Regions from separate parts of the Homo sapiens genome. Here region 2 is linked to region 1. The links are contacts of gene promoters, found by promoter capture Hi-C in human tissues and cell types (Jung and others, 2019). All regions are on one chromosome and are shown on one strand. Each heading gives the region's core, a stretch centred on a gene start or on the middle of the fragment in contact. The rest is flanking DNA. Distances are from core to core; before and after follow the strand shown.

Region 1 (6,097 bases), core at 3,029-5,528:
GGGCAGTGGCCAGAGGGATCGCTGGCTTGGGGAATGTGGAGGTCTATTGGGAAGAGGTGGGGAGAGAAAGTGGTTGGGTAGGGGGCTCCAGTGGTAGGGGGCTATAGGGGATAGATGCCAGCAGGGTTTTCTCACCTTCGTGTGCAACTTGGCCAGCTGCTTCTCATCCAGGTTGGTCTGTTTGTAAACTCGGGTCTTGTATCGGAACTGAGGTCAAGGGTAGGGTAGTGAGAGAGACACAGAGACTTGGAATCAGGGGCCTGGGGAGAAGGCTTGGGGTAGGGGAAGGTCTGATCCCCTTCTAATTCCCCGGGGTAGCTCAGGGTGGGAGTGAAAACAGCCCTGGAACCTTGGTCTAGGCGGTAGATGGGTGGCAGTGGCTTTTCCGACAGTGCTGGGTATTATGGTATATGTGCACTGCAACCCCTGCCTTGAAGGAGGAGGAGTCTGGACCCCACAGGGAATGTTCTAGAGTGCCTACTGTAATTGGGAATCCTCCCCCAATTTGATGGGTGAGGAGAAGCTTGGGGCAGGAAAGTGACTTGGCCAAGGCCACTTAGCTGGTCAGAAGCAGAACAGATGGTAATTTGAACTCAGGACTCTCTGACTTCCCTGTGATGCTTAGAAGGTCTGGACTCGCACACTGGGTGCCCCCTCGTTAAGGTTTCGAGTGTGTTAAAAAGTGGGTGGGGGGCAGATGTGTTTTAGGGCATGCCTTCTCTTATCAGTGAAGGAGTTGGGGAAGCTTCACCTCCAGGTAGGGGACCCCCTTCTCAAAGGACTGGGGGTACTCCCGCAGCAGCCTCTCCTCCTCCAGGAAGTTGGCATCGCGGCCGGAGGTGGCCGGTTGGAACAGGCCATAGTTGAGCACATCCTGCAGGCTCTCGCTCAGGGCACAGAGCACCTGCTGCTTGGCCGTCCAGATGGTGGCATCGGGGTTGAAGCGAAGGCATTTCTGGTTGGGGAAGAGATAGGGGCTAGGGTGGGCCAGGGGCCAGAGGAGAGCCTGAGGTGGGTTGGGAAGTGAGCCAGGAGCTGAGTGTGGGGGTGATTCCTGGGAGGATACCCAGCACCAGTGGACTCCCCATGTCGGTTGGGGCACTGTCCCTCTCCTGCCGCTGGCCAGTGGGCAGGTACTCACTGTCTGGTGCAGGTCCGGGATGCCAATCCTGAAGACCATCATGCTGAAGTGGGCGTCGTCTGGGACGGACATTGAGCGGCCCTGGAGGCCTCTAACAGAGGCCAGGCTACCAGGTGCCCCACTGCCCTGGCCCCGGGTCCCCCGGGGGCCTCGACCTGGCCCGTCTGGGGAGCTGTCGGACTCTGAGCCCCCCTCGGGACACTCGCTGGCACTGTGGCGTTCCTCGTCCTCGCTTGTCGCGGGGCTGTGGGTCATTGTGGGGCCACGGGGCGACGGGGGACGGCAGCATCACAGGCGGCTGCAGGGGCCAAGGGCGGCCATCAGACTAGGAGCCCGGGACCCCTCAGAGGCCGCAGGCGCTATTCGGTGGTCAAGCGGTCAAGGGCAGCCTACCCCCACTGCCCAAGATAGGCAGGAAGGAGGCTGGACACACCCTCGGCCTGCACGGCCTCCCCTGCCGCCTCCTCCCACGCTGGCACGCACACACCCCTGTCCCTGACATGCTTCTGGCATGTGTCTCCTTCCCTGCCCTTGGCCCCGCTTGCAGCCCGCCCCCTGCGCCCCACTTTGCTGGTGACCCAGCGTGGCCGTGTCCCAGAAACCGCAGAATCACCGCGGGAGCTACTGGCCCACTTTGCCAGGCCACAGAAAATGCAGCTAAAATTAGCTAAGGACAGACAGGTGGACAAACTGACAGGCATCCTGCCCTCCTGGCCCCAGCCTGGCCCCTCATCCCAGGGCCGGGGGGTGGGGTTGGGGAGAAGCTGAGGCTGACACTGAGATGTAGTAAGGGGGAGAGGGAGGTGTGGTGAGCCTGGAGCGGGTGGAGCTGGTGACTTCACTCAAGTGTGGCTGACAACGCGTGGCATGCCGAATAGTGCTGGGGAATCTGCCGTCCCAGGGGAGCAAGGGGCACTGAGATGGGGGTGTCATGGGCAGAGCATTTGGCCTAGGGTGTCCCCAAGGGAACCACAAGAGGTGGCTTTTGGAGACTGGGGCATCTTGAGAGGGTGTGCGGGTAGGTGGGGAGGTCGGCCTGGGGAGTGCTGTCCAGGTGACAGTGGTGTGGTGGCCCGGGTAGATGTGGGTGGCTGCAGATGACCTGTAGCTCTTTTCTAGGACTGCAGGGTGGGTGGGCTGGCTTGCTGGGTACTAGGGGCTCCACTCTGAGGACTGGGGGTGTTAGGAGGGAGGCTAAGAAGTGAGAGGAGGGTCTGGGGAACTGAGTGGGGGATCATCTCTAGATCCTTGCTGTTCTCCCTTGAGGTGGCCTTATGAGGGTGGAGCCCCTTCCAAATGGGGTCCGCCTCCCTTCTGTTCTCCCCCAACTCCCACCCCAGCACCGGAAACCAGAATGTCTGGTCTGGTCCCTCCCCCCAACACCAGGCCCGGTTCCTGCACCGTTGCCATGGAGATGGGAAGCAGTGGAGGGTACTGCTGACTTTGGGGGAGTGGGGATGGGCTGGGGGGTTGGGAAAGGGAAGACTAAATGTGTGTGGTGGGAGGAGAGTTCCAGGAGGTGTGGGCGAGCGAGCCTCTAACCCAGGGCCGGCGGACCCCTCCCCCACGCGCGGCAGCGCTGCGAAGCCCCCTCCCCCTCCAGGTACCCAGCCACGCCGCCCCACCTCGTCCCTGCGGAGACCCCGGCTGCCTCCTCCCTGCCCCGCCGCACAGCCCACCTCGCGATCTGGGGCCCGCAGACACTCCCCCTCGGCTGACCCTGGCTGACCCCCAGCCTCAACCCCGCTCGGAGGGGGTGGCCGGTGGGATGAAAGAAAAGCTGGCTAGGGCCCCCCGCGCGTACGGCTGCCCCAGCCCCCCCGGGCCGGCTCCGGCCCCTCCCCCTCAGGGCTCGCGGGAGGGAGCGGGCACGCTCCGCCGGGGCGGCATGAATCAAACGCTCCGCGGCTAAGAATAGCTGGCACGCAGCTGGTACCGAGACGGGCTGAGGAATCGGCGAGGGGGGTGGTGGAGGACGCGAGAGAGGGGGTGCCCTGGGAGGCTGTGGGGGGACAGGGGGCGGCTGGCGTGGCCGAGAGCGGGGCCGGGGAGAATGAATGGAGGCGGAGGGAGGCGGGGAGGGGCGGGGAGAGAGAGCCGGAGCCGAGGCTGGGAAACTGGTGGGGGAGAACCCGGCCGGGGAGAGGGGCGGGGGGCACCGGGGAGCAGGAGTCGGGGGCGGGAGCCGAGGGGGCGCGCCGGCCGGCGGTGTAGGGACTGGAGACCTGGTGGGGACGCAGGGAGCTTGGACAGGGGTGGAAAGGGACTGGAGGAGCCTGGAAGGAGAAGCGGGAGCTGGAGGGGTCGAAAGGGGCGGAGGAGGCCCGGGCCTAGACCCTCGCTGGAGGGGAGTGGGGACCAGGGTGACCTGGCGGAGGGGCCCAGGTACGCCAGGGAGGGCGAGGCGGGGGAGTGGCCGGGCTGGGCGGGGAGGCGGGTACCAGGACCGAGCCCTTGGCCCCGGAGAGCCGGGAGGCGGGTTCGGGATAGGGGCTCTGCTGGCCGGGGGTGGGGGGCGCGCCCTCCCATCAAGGATGCGATCTGGGACGGGGCACCGGGGACCCGGGCGTAACCCAATTTGGTGTCGCCCAGGGCAACGCTCCCCACCTCACCCGTACCCCCAGCCGCACACCCAGGCCAGGAGCCCGGCGCCGGGCCAAGGACATCCGGGGCGCCCTCGCCCCCTCCCGCGGCCCCGGCCCCGCAGCTGCCCCAAACCCCCAGGTTCTCGACCCCCTTACCTGCCTGGCGGGGCTGCTGAGTCCCGGTCGGCGGCGCCCGCGGCCCCTCCCCCCTCCCCCCACCCCCCACCCCCCCGGAGACGGGGACCCTCAGGCCATGCCCCACCGCCCCGGAGGGCGAGCGGGCCCGGGGAGGGGGCGGGCGGGGACCGGGGGGGAGGGCGGGAGGGCCGAGGACCTCACCCCCCCCGCGGGCCGGGCCTGGCCATCCGCAGAGCGCCCCCCCTTCCGCCGCGGCCGCCGCGCCCCTCCTCGCCCGCCCCCGGCTCGGTCCGGCCGGCTCCGGGCGCCGCGTCTCCGCCTGCTCTTCCTCCTCCTCTTCCTCGGGCCGCCGCCGCCGCCGCCCGCTCCGCGCCTCCTCTGCCACCCTTCTCGCTCTCTCGCTCTCGCTGTCTCTCCCTCACCCTGTCTCTCTCCCTCCCTCTCTCCCTCCCTCCCCTCCCTCCGCCCTCTCCCCTCCCTCCGGGAGCCGGCGGAGGAGACATCGCCCCTCCCCGCGCCCCCAAACCTCGCCCATCCCCCACCACCGCCGGCTCCGCCCCCTACCCTTGCCCTCCCCCACCACTCCTCCCCACCTCCGAGTCCCCAAATCCTGACTCCGCCCCTGCTTGCTCCCATACCCCGAGGAAGGGGTCCTGCCCCCATAAGGTGCCCCCCCACACACACCTCAGGACCACCCCCTCCCAGAGAGCTCCCCGCCGCCCTACACAGAGTGGGGCACAATAAATATTTGTTGCCAGACTCTACACCCCCAAATTTAAGTGTGAAGGCTATAGATTCCCACCCTGTCCCCCCAAACACACACACACCCTTTCCATTTAAGCACTGGGTCAGGGCACACGTGGACATACCTGGGCCAGGCCACATTTCCCCAAGGCACAGGTGCATAGTCACCAGCTGTAACGGCACCTGCAGAGTCCCCACATACACACACTCTCCAGCGCATGCATGCCCAGACACAATGCACCTGGGGTACACAGCTACAAACACACCCAGCTACATGCAGTTGTCACACCCCTGTGCCCGGGCACACACGCAGCACATGCACACATTTGCCCACCACACACGCACGTGCGCGCGCACACACGCACACAGGCGTTCACCCCGGTATGCATGCCCAGATCTCTCAACACCAAAACGGAGTTACAGCACTGTAGAGACGTGTGCACGCCTTCCCATCACACCCACCCACCGTGCTGTCCATTGCACTGGCTCGCACTCACCCGTTTACATGCCCAACACCGTGCCATCCTTCCCCTCCAGGATAGTTACTGCTGACATTCCTGGAGCACTTTCTGTGTGCCAGGCTCAGGGACTTTCGCCATCCCCATTTTCCAGAGGGGGAAACCAAGGAACAGAGAGGCTAAGTAACTTGCCCAAGGTCATCCAGCTGTAAGGAGGTGGTAACAAGGATCAGGAACAGGTAGGCTGGCTCCAAAGTCCTCACTTGACAACTATGGTGCACTACTGGGCATATCCCCTCATAGTTGCATATCCTTATTCATCACACACAGACACACCCAACCGTCTCCTCAGAGTTTGCACATGTCTGTGTAGGCACGCATATGCAGCCAGCTGCAGGCAGACAGCTCATTCATGCCTGGGACGCACCCACAGGGACAGAGCAGATCCCACAGGGCAGCAGTGAGTGGTGAGTGTCCCCTTAGCCCAGGCTTCCTCATTCTCCCAGCTCCAACAGCACCTCCAGGGCCTGCAGGGGGCAGTTCTAGGCAGCTTCTGGGTTCCCCTCCAGCTGCAGGCTCTCCGGGGTACCCGAGTATGAGCTGGAGGAGGTGCCTGCTCAGCCTGGGGAGGCCTCTATCTTGATGCGTACCCACTAGCCCAGGTGGTGAGCAGCTGGGCCCGGGGAAAGCACAGCTGCCCATGTTGGCTCCAGCAGCCAGAGAGGCTGTGCACCCCTGCACACTTTACAAGGCCTTTCCCCACATACGCATTATTTCTTGAGGTCTGTAGCTCCTGGTGAGGGGCCCCAGGTTCCCGATGGGCACCTGAGAGGCCCAGGCTCTGAGGCAGGGAGCAGTCTGCCCAAGGTCACAGTGCCCTCGATGTACCAGGATTTCTTGGAAAACGGAAGGCTGGAGGCACTGATTTCCAAGGCCCCTCCTGGGGCTCCCGGCAGCCGAGGGCAGATGCCCTGCTCTTGGAGCCAGAAACCTTGGCTAGCTGCCGCCACACTGGTGACCTCCAGCAGGCT
Region 2 (5,786 bases), core at 1,863-4,362, 240 kb before region 1:
TGCCCAGGCTGGAGTGCAGTGGTGTGATCACAGTTCACTGCAGCCTCGAACTCCTGGGCTCAAGTGATCCTCCTGGCTCAGCCCCAGTAGCTAGGACCACATGTATGTGTCACCATACCTGGCTAGCTTTGTAATTTTGATTTTTGTAGAGATGGGGGTCTTGCTATGTTGCCCAGGCTGGTCTTGAACTCCAAGCCTGAAGTAATCCTCCCACCTCAGCCTCCCAAAGTGCTGGGATTACAGGCATGAGTCACCATACCCGGCATCTCTCTTTCATGAACTGTGAGATGTGGTCAAAAAAGTGAAAGCCAGACAGGCATGGTAGCTCATGCCTGTAATCCCAGCACTTTGGGAGGCCCAGGCAGGCAGATCACCTGAGGTCAGGAGTTCGAGACCAGCCTGGCCAACATGGTGAAACCCCGTCTCTACTAAAAATACAAAAATTAGCTGGGCGTGGTGGCAGGCTCCTGTAATCCCAGCTACTCAGGAGGCTGAGGCAGGAGAATTGCTTGAACCCAGGAGGCAGAGGTTGCAGTGAGCCGAGGTTGTGCCACTGCACTCCAGCCTGGAGACTCTGTCTCAAAAAAACAAACAACAAAAAAAGTGAAAGCTACTGGCAGAATGTTTCTGTACTGTAGGCATGTAAACATTTCAGTGTTTGTAGCTGGAGTTGGGGCAGGAGCCTTGGGTGAGAAAAAGGAACAGCTTCTGCTGTCTATTTTGTGCTTGTTTTCTCGTTTGTTTGCATTACTTTTTCTTTTCTCTTTTCTTTTCTTTTTTATTCTCTCTTTTTTTTTTTGAGACAGAGTCTCACTCATTCTGTTACCCAGGTTGGAGTGCAGTGGGATGATCTCGGCTCACTGCAACCTCCACCTCTTGGGTTCAAGCAATTCTCCTGCCTCAGCCTCCCGAGTAGCTGGGATTACCGGCGCCCGCCACCACACCTGGCTAATTTTTTTTTTTTTTTTTGAGATGGAGTCTCGCTCTGTCGCCCAGGCTGGAGTGCAGTGGCGCAATCTCAGCTCACTGCAACCTCCGCCTCCTGGGTTCACGCCATTCTCCTGCCTCAGCCTCCCGAGTAGCTGGGACTACAGGCGCTCACCACCACGCCCGACTAATTTTTTGTATTTTTAGTAGAGACGGGGTTTCACTGTGTTAGCCAGGATGGTCTCGTTCTCTTGACCTCGTGATCCACCCACCTCAGCCTCCCAAAGTGCTGGGATTACAAGCGTGAGCCACCGCACCCGGCCCTGGCTAATTTTTTGTATTTCTGGTAGAGACAGGGTTTTGCTATGTTGGCCAGACCGGTCTCAAATTCCTGGCCTCAAATGATCTGCCTGCCTTGGCCTCCCAAAGTGCTGGGATTACAGGTGTGGGCCACCGCACCCGATCTGCATTACTTTTTCAATGAAAAAATATGACGTAAAGGGGCAGTGTGGAGTGAGGCACAGGAGGGCTCAAGAACCATGAGATCCACAATCATGACAAGCTTGGCATTCCAATCCTGGCCCACTCTGGAGCCACAGTGGGACCCTGGGCAACTGGCTCCCGGCTCTCTGAGCCTCAGTTTAGCTCTTTGGCGGATGGGGCTAAGGGACCCCACCATGTGAAGATATGAGGTCAGAGGTGAGATCGTATGCGCGGCCTAGGGGCGTCTGGCATGAGCAGGCCCTGCGGAAATGATCATTCTCCTGACCGCTGCTGGGGCATGGCTGAGGACTGTCCCCTTCAGGTCTGTCTAATCTCTGATTTCTGGCCCCTGAGGGCTGCTCTGTCCTTGTTCTCCCGGGTAGATGGCAGCTCAGGGAGGGCCGGTAGCACTGCCAGCTCCTGGCCCTGGGGGTGGTCTGGACGAGGGGAGGTACTGCTGGGGGCTCAGGTGCCTGGAGCTGAGGGAGGAAGGGGTCTCGGCTGAGGTGGGGGCAGTTACCCGAAGAGTTGCAGGTGTCCGTTCTCCTTGGCAGGGCCGGCCAGAAGCAATAGGTCCGGGAGCTCCAGGGCTGGACTGGAGGCTGCCACCCCCATGGTGACCTCGTTGGCAACTTCTCCCAACCGAGTCACCTGGGGCCAGAGGTCAGAGGTCGGGGCAGGATAGATGTCGGGGCAGAACTGAGGAGGGATCAGAGGTTAGGAATCTTGGTAGGGGAAAAGGTCATGAACCAGGTGAGTTGAAAATCAGGCTGGGGGCCAGATATCTTGAAATTAAAGTTCAAGAATCATATGGGTGTGAAGTCAGGGAAACTGAGGCAAGGGAGTTACAGGCCAGGGTTCACAAAGAATCTAGAGAACTAGAAGTATGGGGTGTCAGAGATCACATAGGAGTTGGGAGTCGGGAATCCCACGAGATGGACGTTATGGGGGAGCAGGGGCTTTCCAAGTCAGGAGGAGGTCGAGGGGCAGGCCGAGGCTGGGGATGAGGGGGTTCTGGGGCTCCCTACCTGTACGAAGTTGCTCTCAAAGATGGGGAAGTCCCGAAACTGGTCGAATTCGCCGCTCTGGAGGTAGCGTTGGAGCCGTCTGGGACGGCCCGTGGGAGAGGCTGCAACCAGGAGGCATTTTACCAGGACGAAGTCTGGGGGTCGATCCTGGGAGGCTGTGCCTGGCTTCCCAACTGAGAGGGCCCGGCACAGCCCCGCGGAGAGGACGGGGTATCAGATGCCCCCGAATTGCCGGCCCCATCCTACTTGGTTCCTTCACCAGGTCCAACCCCTCTAGGCCTGGCTCCCCTCTCTCACCTGCCATCCCACCTGGTTCCACCTCGCCAGCTCCACCCAGGGCCGGCTTAGGGCCGCGATCCCGCCTCATTGCAATGTCCCCGTCCGACGGGAGCGGACGGAGGAGCAGAGGGAGAAAGCGAGGGGGCGGGACTACGCGCACTGTGACGTCATGATGCGGAGCGGGCTTTATGACGTCACACAAGAGCGGGCTCCTGATTTGTGATGACGTCCCTGGAGGGGGCGGCTCCTGGAGATCAGGCCAAAGGGGCGGCCCCATCCTGCTGACGTCAGGCCCCAGGTGCGGACGGGTGCCAGTGCGCAGGTGCCGGGGCCCAGCGCAGGCGCACGGGCGTCAGGATGCGGCCTGTTCCTCCCGGCGTGCTCCGCGGCTCTTGGCTCACAGCCGTCCCTTCGCTGGTGGGAAGAAGCCGAGATGGCGGCAGCCAGCGCTGGGGCAACCCGGCTGCTCCTGCTCTTGCTGATGGCGGTAGCAGCGCCCAGTCGAGCCCGGGGCAGCGGCTGCCGGGCCGGGACTGGTGCGCGAGGGGTGAGTGCTCTTTAGCTGTGCATAGCGGGCGCGGTCTACGGATGTCGCAGGTCTTGGGTCTTTAGGTGAGTTACAGACGGAAGGAGGCTGCGCAGGGCTGAGAGGGAAGAGGTGGGAGATCCCTGGAAAGCCAGGCCTCAGTCACGCACGCGCAGGAGGGGCCTCGCCAGTGCACCGGGTTGCAAGGACTGGGTGGGAGGACAAGCGCACCTGTCGGAAGGCTCTGGCTCGGGAATATGTATGAGGGGGCGGGGCTGGGGGTGTGGAATCTTGGAGAATCCGACGTCCGGGCGGTTGAAATGAAAGAGGCAAGGTGAAGCCGGGCGCGGTGGCTCATCTGTCATCCCAACGCTTAGGGAGGCCGAGGCGGGAGGATTGCTCTAGGCCAGGAGTTCAAGACCAGCCTGGGCAACATAGCGAGCCCTGTCTCTACAAAAAATACTAAAAAAAAAAAAAAAATTAGGCCGGTCGCGGTGGCTCATGCTTGTAATCCCAGCACTTCGGGAAGCCGAGGCGGGCGGACCACTTGAAGTCAGGAGTTCAAGACCAGCCTGCTCAAAATGGTGAAACCCCGTCTCTACTAAAAACACAAAAATTAGCTGGATGTGGTGGCAGGTGCCTGTAATTCCAACTACTCGGGAGGCTGAGGCAGGAGAATCGCTTGAACCCAGGAGGCAGAGGTTGCAGGGAGCTGAGATCACGCTACTGCACTCCAGCCTGGGCGACTGAGCGAGACCCTGTCTCAGAAAAAGAAAATAAGGCGTGGGAGGGGGCTCTTGAGGAAGTGGAGATGAGTTTTGTCTCCTAAATATGCGTGAGTATGCAAGTTTGGAGGTTGGAGAAAAGGAAAGCATGAATCTTGAATGTGCTTAATAGGGACTGAACTCAGGCTGCATCTTGGCTATTGGGCTGTCAGGTGATAAGGAGGCCATTTGAATATTAGCATGAAAAAGAAGGCTTGGGAGAGGGAGAGTGTCATTTAACTCATGAGTATTTGTGGCGCAAGGCTTGGAAGTGACCTTGGGATAGTTGCTTTGGCAATGAGGTTAGGCATGTTTGTAGGGTCTGGTTTTCTGGGGGTGAGGGAGTGCAGAGTATGAATATTCATGAAATGGGTGGTTTCTAGTGAAATAAAGGCAAGCAGCAGTGATTAACTTGAAGATAAGGCTCCTCCCTCAGCCCACCAGTCTGTCTGTCCTGGGTTCTGTGGGTGACTACTATGCTGAGGGCTTGGGTGGTCCTCACCTGGGGCCTTCTGTGTCCTCTGCAGGCTGGGGCGGAAGGTCGAGAGGGCGAGGCCTGTGGCACGGTGGGGCTGCTGCTGGAGCACTCATTTGAGATCGGTGAGTCAGGCAACGTCCTCTCCTAGACACTTAACATTGGTGCCCTGAGAAGTCAAGACTTGGAGTCTGGGTGCCTCCCGTCGTATGACATTTACTAACAACCATTTACTAACAGATTTGCCTCAGGTTAGGGGAAAGTGGGACATGAAAGAAGAGAAACACTCTTTAAATGCCCCCTTGCCTGTGAGACAAACCTCAGTTTTTAAAAGGTCATCACAGCAGTAATAATTTCAGAGCGGCTTTCCTGATCAGTCGCCACGTGCCCAGCATTAGCGGTTCCACGCTTTGCAAGTATTAACTCAGATGTCCTCACAGCAGCCATGTGAGGTGGTAGGTATTCGTGTCAGCCCCTTTTTCCAGAAGAGGAAACGGGCTCAGAGTAGGCACCACACAAGGTCTCATCGTGAGTGAGTGGCAGAGCAGGGGCCAGCTTCAAACCCAAACTTAAATTGCCATGATGCAGGTGTCCAGGTTCCCAGAGCTGGACGTCAGTGCTGCCCAGAGTGTAGTAATCGAGTCTGAGGCCCCGAACCTGAGGGCACAAACCCTGAAGCTGGTGCCCCTCTGCAAACCCTGGCATCTGCTCAGTGAACAGCTCCCCTGATTCTGACATGGCCAGGTAGTTGGGAATTCCTGAACTCCACAGCCTCCGTATTTTGCAGTTGGGGAAGCTGAGGCTCAGAGAGGTTGTGTGGCTATCCCTGGGTCACCTGGTGAGGCAGAGGCAGGATTTGGGAGCTGTGGGGTTCATGCATCTGCTACGGGTTGCCTTGTGAGGTGGAACATGGTGGAGGTGTCCCCACTTTGCAGATAGCAAAATGGGGGCCCAGATGGGGAGGGAACCTGGTCACTCGGGTGGAGGCCAGGCCAAAATTTGAAGCTGGACCTCCTGGCCCCTGCCTGGGTTGAAGGGTGGGCGGGGGAGGGGGCGTCTCTGAACCTGAGCTCCTCACAGATGACAGTGCCAACTTCCGGAAGCGGGGCTCACTGCTCTGGAACCAGCAGGATGGTACCTTGTCCCTGTCACAGCGGCAGCTCAGCGAGGAGGAGCGGGGCCGACTCCGGGTGAGGTGGGGCCCTCAGGGCTGGGTGTGGATGGGGATGGAGGGTTTCCAGCTGTCTCTTCAGCCACCCCCTGCTGGTCCCCAGCAGCCTTCCCTCCAGGCCCAGGTGGGCTCC

Evidence for each region. Contacts are between HindIII fragments. The study calls those that stand out against the background at their distance.
Region 2: a contact is called between the fragment with the promoter of EMC10 here and the fragment with the promoter of SHANK1 in region 1, in 1 of the 25 tissues and cell types used here (dorsolateral prefrontal cortex).

What each region holds. Positions count from the first base shown.
Region 1 is chr19:50,715,524-50,721,620 of GRCh38, forward strand. SHANK1 (SH3 and multiple ankyrin repeat domains 1) reads right to left here and starts at 4,279. Exons shown (of 24, transcript NM_016148.5): 1 at 3,883-4,279; 2 at 1,142-1,439; 3 at 752-955; 4 at 136-207. The coding sequence starts at 1,396. The HindIII fragment of the contact is 4,964 bases long and covers 3,552-6,097 here.
Region 2 is chr19:50,473,395-50,479,180 of GRCh38, forward strand. It overlaps EMC10 (ER membrane protein complex subunit 10), which reads left to right and starts at 3,113. Exons shown (of 7, transcript NM_206538.4): 1 at 3,113-3,264; 2 at 4,535-4,607; 3 at 5,563-5,672. The coding sequence starts at 3,151. It overlaps GARIN5A (golgi associated RAB2 interactor 5A), which reads right to left and starts at 3,454. Exons shown (of 5, transcript NM_001308429.2): 1 at 2,736-3,454; 2 at 2,439-2,539; 3 at 1,931-2,109. The coding sequence starts at 2,994. RefSeq lists enhancers at 2,751-3,251, 3,118-3,317. The HindIII fragment of the contact is 25,206 bases long and covers 1-5,786 here.